Regions from separate parts of the Homo sapiens genome. Here region 1 is linked to region 2. The links are contacts of gene promoters, found by promoter capture Hi-C in human tissues and cell types (Jung and others, 2019). All regions are on one chromosome and are shown on one strand. The core of a region is centred on a gene start or on the middle of the fragment in contact, and the rest is flanking DNA. Distances in the headings are between cores, read along the strand shown. Region 1 overlaps IL12A-AS1 (IL12A antisense RNA 1). Region 2 holds the start of IL12A (interleukin 12A).

The links. The method cuts DNA at HindIII sites, captures the fragments that hold promoters and counts their contacts. A contact is called where the count stands out against the background at its distance.
Region 1: a contact is called between a fragment that was not itself captured here and the fragment with the promoter of IL12A in region 2, in 2 of the 25 tissues and cell types used here (mesenchymal stem cells and psoas muscle).

Annotation. Positions count from the first base shown.
Region 1 is chr3:159,953,258-159,956,597 of GRCh38, forward strand. The region is part of intron 9 of IL12A-AS1 (IL12A antisense RNA 1); the gene reads right to left. Among named protein-coding and RNA genes, the nearest start is that of IL12A, 34 kb to the right of the region's middle. The HindIII fragment of the contact is 4,370 bases long and covers 1-3,340 here.
Region 2 is chr3:159,986,414-159,990,087 of GRCh38, forward strand. IL12A (interleukin 12A) reads left to right here and starts at 2,422. Exons shown (of 7, transcript NM_001397992.1): 1 at 2,422-2,761. The coding sequence starts at 2,746. It overlaps IL12A-AS1 (IL12A antisense RNA 1), which reads right to left. Exons shown (of 10, transcript NR_108088.1): 9 at 2,684-2,880. RefSeq lists enhancers at 81-1,280, 2,132-2,632, 2,633-3,133, 2,633-2,682 and silencers at 2,193-2,392, 2,463-2,512. The HindIII fragment of the contact is 7,471 bases long and covers 1-3,674 here.

The sequences.
Region 1 (3,340 bases), core at 315-2,814, 34 kb before region 2:
CTGAATAGAACAAAAGGCAGAGGAAGGGTGAATTTTCTTCTGTTTGAGCTGGGACATCATCTTCTCCTGCCCTCAGACATTGGGACTCCTGGTTCTTGGGCCAGGACTTCCACCATAGGCTCCCCACCCATCTCCTATTGGTTCCATTTCTTTGACATCCCCTGATTAATACAAATATGGATCTCCTCTGGTTCCCTCTGGGCTCTTCAGCAAGTCACTCACCAGTCTAAAACTGGATCTTCTTGTCTCCACGAGAAAAGAAGAAGTTAGCTTTCATCAGTCACTCTGTGTGTGGAATGTTATATAATGTTGTGCAAGACATTAGGTTGGTGCAAACTTAATTGTGGTTTTTTATTTGCACCAACCCGATACATAAAAAATTTTAAAGACATTATTATTATTAACCAGATGCCAACTGCATTTATAAAATTTTATTTTCTTAGTCATCTCAATTTTGTAAATTAGTTTCAAACCAACAAAGCAAACTCCATTTTGTGCTTAGGAGAGGTGTACACACTAGGCTAGCAAGCCCTGTGGGAGTCTATTTATAAAAGAATAAGAGAGTCAAGGTTGTGTTCTGAATGCCCATTTTATATGCATGGCTTGAGTTAAGTTCTTTATGCATAATTCATATGGTCATTTACAGGCTTTTACATGACTCTTCCTTTAAGAGTTAACTAACAAAGAGGACATTATCAGCCATGGCACCAGGATATTATGCAAATCTTTCTATCTCTGAGCCAACAGAAAAGGGGATGGGTTGATTAATTAAAAAGATGAAGGAGGAAATGGGGGGTTCACACCCCTCTTGATGTTACTCATCATTTATTAATGTATTTAACTGAAAATAATTTTGAAGGATAAATGTGACTGTGTATTACCTCTGGTTGTGAAGGCACTGCTTAACCCTGTGCATAACCATTTGAGTAGATGGAAAATGTTTGATTTCATTCATTTCACAAGAAGCCCCACAATATGCCATCTGTAACCTGGAGAAGCAGGCAAGCTGGGGTGTAATTCAGTTTGAGTCCAAAGGCCTTTGAACTGGAGTGGGGGAGTAGGTGTCGGAGGGCAGGGGGTGCTAGTTTAAGTCCCTGAGTCTAAAAGCTTAAGAACCAGGAGCTGCTCCAATGTCTGAGGGGAGAAAAAGATGAATATATCAGCTCAAAAGTGAGAGGGAGTCCACCCTTGCTCCCCCATTTTGCTGTATCCCAGTGGACCCTCACTGGACTGGATGATGGCTGCCCACATTGGGGAGGGCAATCTTCCTCACTCAATCTGCTGATTCAGTGCTAATCCTTCCCAGAAACAGCCTCACAAACTCACCTAGAAATAATGTTTCACCAGCTATCTAGGCATCCCTTAGCCCAGCTTGACACATAAAATCAATCATCACACAATATAAGTAAAAATATTTGTCTGTATTTACCTTCATACATCGTGAGAGGGGCTACACAAATGTATGAACAGAAGGAGGCAGGAATTATTGGGGGCCATCTTGAAGACAGGTTACCACTGCCCTGTCACTATTAAACCATATATTAGCCCTGGACCAACTATACGGATTTTTGCTTTTGAAAAACATAAACACCTATCATGTTTATGCTAACATACTTGGAGTCTTTTTCTTACATCTGCCTAATCTATCTCCTAATGAAACCACTAATTTGCCACACAAAATTAGAAAAGCCAGCTGGAATCAGCTCACAAAGGGCCCTCAATGCTAAATTAAAAGCTTGGGCAAACCACTGAAGATTTTTGAATACTATTTTCAGTAGATTAATCAATCAGGCAACGGAATGGATCACAGTGAGGAGAGCCTGAAGTCAAGAAGATAATTCCAGGGGCCGTTACCTGAACTAAAATGGTGGCCATGAGAGTTAGAAGAAGTGCTAGATGTGAGAGACACTGAGGAAGAAGAGTCCCCAGGACATGAAGAGTGACCAGAGGTGTGAGGCAAGGGAGTTGGAGGAGTCAGGATGACCTCCATCATCCTGGGGTGTCTGGGGGATATGAGGTACTGTTAGATCATCTCAACAAGACACATGCATATTTTAACAACTCTGGAGCAAATAATAGAATTCTCTAAAGGGGTAGGCTGTAATGGGAATGTCAGGCAATGGAGAACAGGCAGTGAGAGAACTTCATCTGAGGCCAAGCCAAACCTAGATGGGTCCTTCAAAACCCTACCTCAGCTGGGCGTGGTAGCTCACGCCTGTAATCCCAGCACTTTGGGAGGACGAGGTGGATGGATCACCTGAGGTCAGGAGTTCAAGACCAGCCTGGCCAACATGGTGAAATCCTGTCTCTACTAAAATCACACAAAAAAATTAGCCAGGTGTGGTATGCGCGCCTGTAATCCCAGCTACGCGGGAGGCTAAGGCAGGAGAATCACTTGAACCTGGGAGGCGGAGGTCGCAGTGAGCCAAGATTGCGCCACTGCACCCCAGCCTGGGTGACAGAGTAAGACTCTGTCTCAAAATAAATAAATAAATAAAAATAAAACCATATCTCATTAGACTGCTGTTTTAACAATAGGGCCAGCATTTGTCACCCAAATCAGTGATCAATGAAATCACCTCATAAGGCACCATCCTCATGCTGGCTTCCTCCCTCCTCAGCTCTTCCACAACATGTCCTACTGTCACCTGATTGACAGCTTCCCCTCTGTCTCTTCCTTTAGTCTGTACCTCTTCGGGTATAAGGACTAGGTCCTCTGCATCTCTGAGTCACCACAGTAAGCCTAGTGCCTGCGGTAGCATGCATTTAATAAACACTTGCTTACTGCCTTCAGAGTCTGCAGCACATGTTTAAAAACATTCCCTAATCCTCTGAAGGTGACTTAATCTTGTTATCATTCTTCCTTACTCTGTGCCCAGCTCAGTGTTAAGCACTGGGGATAACAAGACAACCCTGGAGCCTGTCCTCAAGAAGCTTTTGACTTTATTCCCTAAACCTGAGAACATAAGATACATTCCCCCATATTCCTAATACTTACTCTTTGGTATGTTCTAATTCTAAATGATGGTGTCATTGCATTCTAATTCCACATTACAGAAGATTTGTGGATTGCCCTGATTCAGCTGTGGGGTAGACAGCACCTTGCTTCTGTTCCAAAATAACCTCTATTATTTTTGATTATTCAAATAATATATACTTATTGATAAATTTTATAAAACGAATTTCATGTCAAAATTTGATATGTTTTCTTAGGTAATTTTTTCTGTACATACGTGAATATATCTGTAATTATAACATTAAGAAGCATCTTCTGTTTTCTCATAGAAACAATGTTATAATTGGGATTGTCTTCTGATTTGGATTTCAGCATTTTATACAT
Region 2 (3,674 bases), core at 1,172-3,671:
ACATTGAGCATGTGAATTAACGAAAAGAGGCTTAAGCTTTCTATATAGAGAAACCTTCCACCCAAGGGTATAGAATTATTTAATTAAATCACACTATATTCTTGACTGAACTTTAAAATTTTTCTCCAAACACTATTCTGTAGTTATCCAAGCTCATGTAATAATCATAATAACTCTATACTGTAGGTACTTTTATTATCATCATTTAACAGATGAGGAAACTGAGCCCAGAGAGATAAATAACTCACCTAAGAACACACAGCAAGTAAGTAGCAGAACCTGGATTAACATAGTTTAGTCCATACTCTTAGCCATTATACTGCCTCTGTATCTACAGTCAGTTACTTTATAGTTTGGCTGCTTCTATGCATGTCATCTTGTTTTTATTACATTTTCTGATGGATTGTTGCAGATACAAAGAAAATCGGCTGATTTTTTTTAAGTTGATATGTGTATTGCATGATGTTGTTAAATTCTCTTCTTAGTTCTAATAGTCTATTAATTTTTTTTCTTTTTGTATATCAACTGTAAAAAGTGACAGTTTTACCTTTTCTTTTCCAATGTTTAAAGCTCTCATTTCTTTTTCTTTCCTTATAGCATTGGCCGAGACCTCCACGACAATGCTACACACTGTGAAGTAGTGATTGTGAGCTAAGACTGTCACTTATAGAAAAATCATGTATTCCTAGAAGAAGGTTTTCATTTCATCTTAGCTAGAGGACATGGAGCACTTCAGGAAACTATTTCACAAAAATGTAAATTAGAAACTGTGTCTGGTAGCCAATAATCCATTTTTAACAGTGGCCCTGTGCTCATCTAAGCAACAGAAATTACTTTTGTATAGGAGATGGCCCTTCCAGGGGAGAAACAGCTCAGTTGTGATACACTTGTCTTCATCCTGACTTTAAGTACATTTAACTCCACACTAAACCCTTGTGGCCACAACACAGCTCTGCACCTGTCATTTGCTCTAGACAAACTGCTAAACGCAATTGTTTCTGACAATGGATTACTCTGTATCCCGTGGGGGAATTCTCAGACAGCAGCATTAGAAGGGGCCTTAGAGATCAACCATTTCTCTTATTTTACACACACCTAAAACTCCCTACAGCCGTGCTTCATCAGCTTCGAGCAGATGAGCCACCCAGAAGGCAGCTCCAGTTATTAGGTCCTAGGGCCTGGGTGTAGTCAGGCCCTTTGGAAGCTCCAAGTCAGAGATCAAACACATCCTCCCCACTACCCACGCCTAGGGTGACTAATGCCTGTGGGAAAAACAACTGAACTAAAAAGTCCCACAGGAACCTCAAACCCAGCACATCCAAAATGGAACTTCTCACCATCTCCTCCAAACTCAGTCCTCTTATACAGTAATCCCTGTAAAGCTAGAACAATCTCCATTCCCCATTCTCAGGGCCTTCCTCTCCCGCTCACCTGAGGAGCTACCAAGCCTTGGCCCACAAGCCCTCTGAGAGTCCCTCCTGCCCACCCTGTGTTCTCCATACTGAATAAGGACTTGGCCACACCTTGTCAACTCTTCCCTCTGCTCTACTCCTGACCCCTGGATCCATCCTTCATGCTGTGGCTGAAGGGATCCCCCCATCATGCAAATTCTGCCACATCTCCCGCCTAAAACCCAGGAAGACTCCCCACTACTCTCAGCACAGAAAGTACACTCCTTAGTATGGCATCCCCTGCCCTCATGGCATGGCCCCATCCAGCCCTCCAGCCTCACACCCTGCAAGGACACCTAGACCCCCACCTCCCTCAACCCTTCATGACTGCGCTTCTGATCCCTGTTTCCCCTGGCTAGACCCTGCGTGCCCTCCCGCTGGAAGCGGTCTAATGCCTGCTTGTTTTTAACACTCAGGTTGGGGCCCCTGCCTGCTCCCGGGAGCCTTTGCTGACTCCTGGACCCCGTTGCTCCGGCTGAGCGTGGGCTCTTTCTCTAGGTCTTTCCTCCCAGGACTCTGTGTATTCATCCTATCGTTAAACTGGATTCTCTACAAGAGTAATAATTGCAGAGTCAGCCAGCTCTCATCCCTTTTCAGGTTTCAGAAAAGACCTGTGAACAAAACGCCTTGAGTCTGATTTAGTGTGGCAATGCCCCAAGGGTCCTGTTCTCCCTGGGTGTCCTGCACCTGGTGCAACGTCGGCCTGGCATCTAGTGAGCCATCTAAAGGAACGATGATGAGTGAATGATTTGCCTACCCCTTCCAGTACTAGGCTGGAGGTCGTGGTTAGGGCCCATCCCTACGCAGGACATGCAAAGTGGGAGGCACTCCTCTCTCTACGTCGGCAGGGGGCGCTGCACAGCTGCGGGGCGGGGTAGCTTAGACACGGGGCGTCCGGCTAAGGCCGGGGACCCAGGGTGGTGGGCGGGGTGTCCCGCCCGCCTGTGGACCCCGCGCAGTAACTGCGAACATTTCGCTTTCATTTTGGGCCGAGCTGGAGGCGGCGGGGCCGTCCCGGAACGGCTGCGGCCGGGCACCCCGGGAGTTAATCCGAAAGCGCCGCAAGCCCCGCGGGCCGGCCGCACCGCACGTGTCACCGAGAAGCTGATGTAGAGAGAGACACAGAAGGAGACAGAAAGCAAGAGACCAGAGTCCCGGGAAAGTCCTGCCGCGCCTCGGGACAATTATAAAAATGTGGCCCCCTGGGTCAGCCTCCCAGCCACCGCCCTCACCTGCCGCGGCCACAGGTCTGCATCCAGCGGCTCGCCCTGTGTCCCTGCAGTGCCGGCTCAGCATGTGTCCAGCGCGCAGTGAGTACTCAGCCCGCCAGGTCTTTGGCTCGCTCGGGTGCGGAGGGGCGGCTGCTTGGGAAGAGTGGGTAGAAACTCAAGTCTGCCTAAGGAGAGACTGGAACAGCAGCAGCCGTCTCCTGCAAAGAGGAATAAGAATAGGGGTCTCACCGTGTGCTAAATAGGGCATGTCTCTTTTCATCTCGAAACAGCCTGATGAGCTATCATTATGCCCACTTCGTAGAGGAGAAACTGAGGCCCAGCGTGGGAGATTTCCTGCTTTCCTGCCTAGGGTCCCTCAGCTACAAACAGAAGGCAGATCCTAGCCAGTTCTAAAGTCAGGCTTGGCCGGGTGCAATGGCTCACGCCTGTAATCCCAGCACTTTGGGAGGCCAAGGCGGACAGATCTCCTGAGGTCAGGAGTTCAAGACCAGCCTGACCAACATGGTGAAACCCCGTCTCTACTAACAAATACACAAATTAGCCGAGTGTGGTGGTGGGTGCCTGTAATCCCATCTACTCGGGAGTCTAAGGCAGGGAAAATTGCTTGAACTCGGAGGTGGAGGTTGCAGTGAGCCAAAATCGTGCCACTGCACTCCAGTCTGGGCCACAGAGTGAGACTCCGTCTTAAAAAAACAAAAAAAGTCAGGCTTTCTCACTCCACTGTTTTTAAAACACTGGGTCCCAAGTCTGACTCAGCCACTTCACCACCTGGTCTGGGTTTCCCTGATCAAAAACATGTAGGCTTTCTCTGGGTGAGTGTTGGGTTCAACACCCTTGTCCAAGCTCATCTCTAGACCCTCACAGGGAGCTGGCTTCTAGCCCTAGAATAGAGTGGCGCTTTGTAATAACTCGAGTCATCTCTCAGGTGTTGAAGGAAAAGTGTTGGAAATGGGTTGAGGGAGGTGGGTGCCAAGCATGAATGGATGGGTGA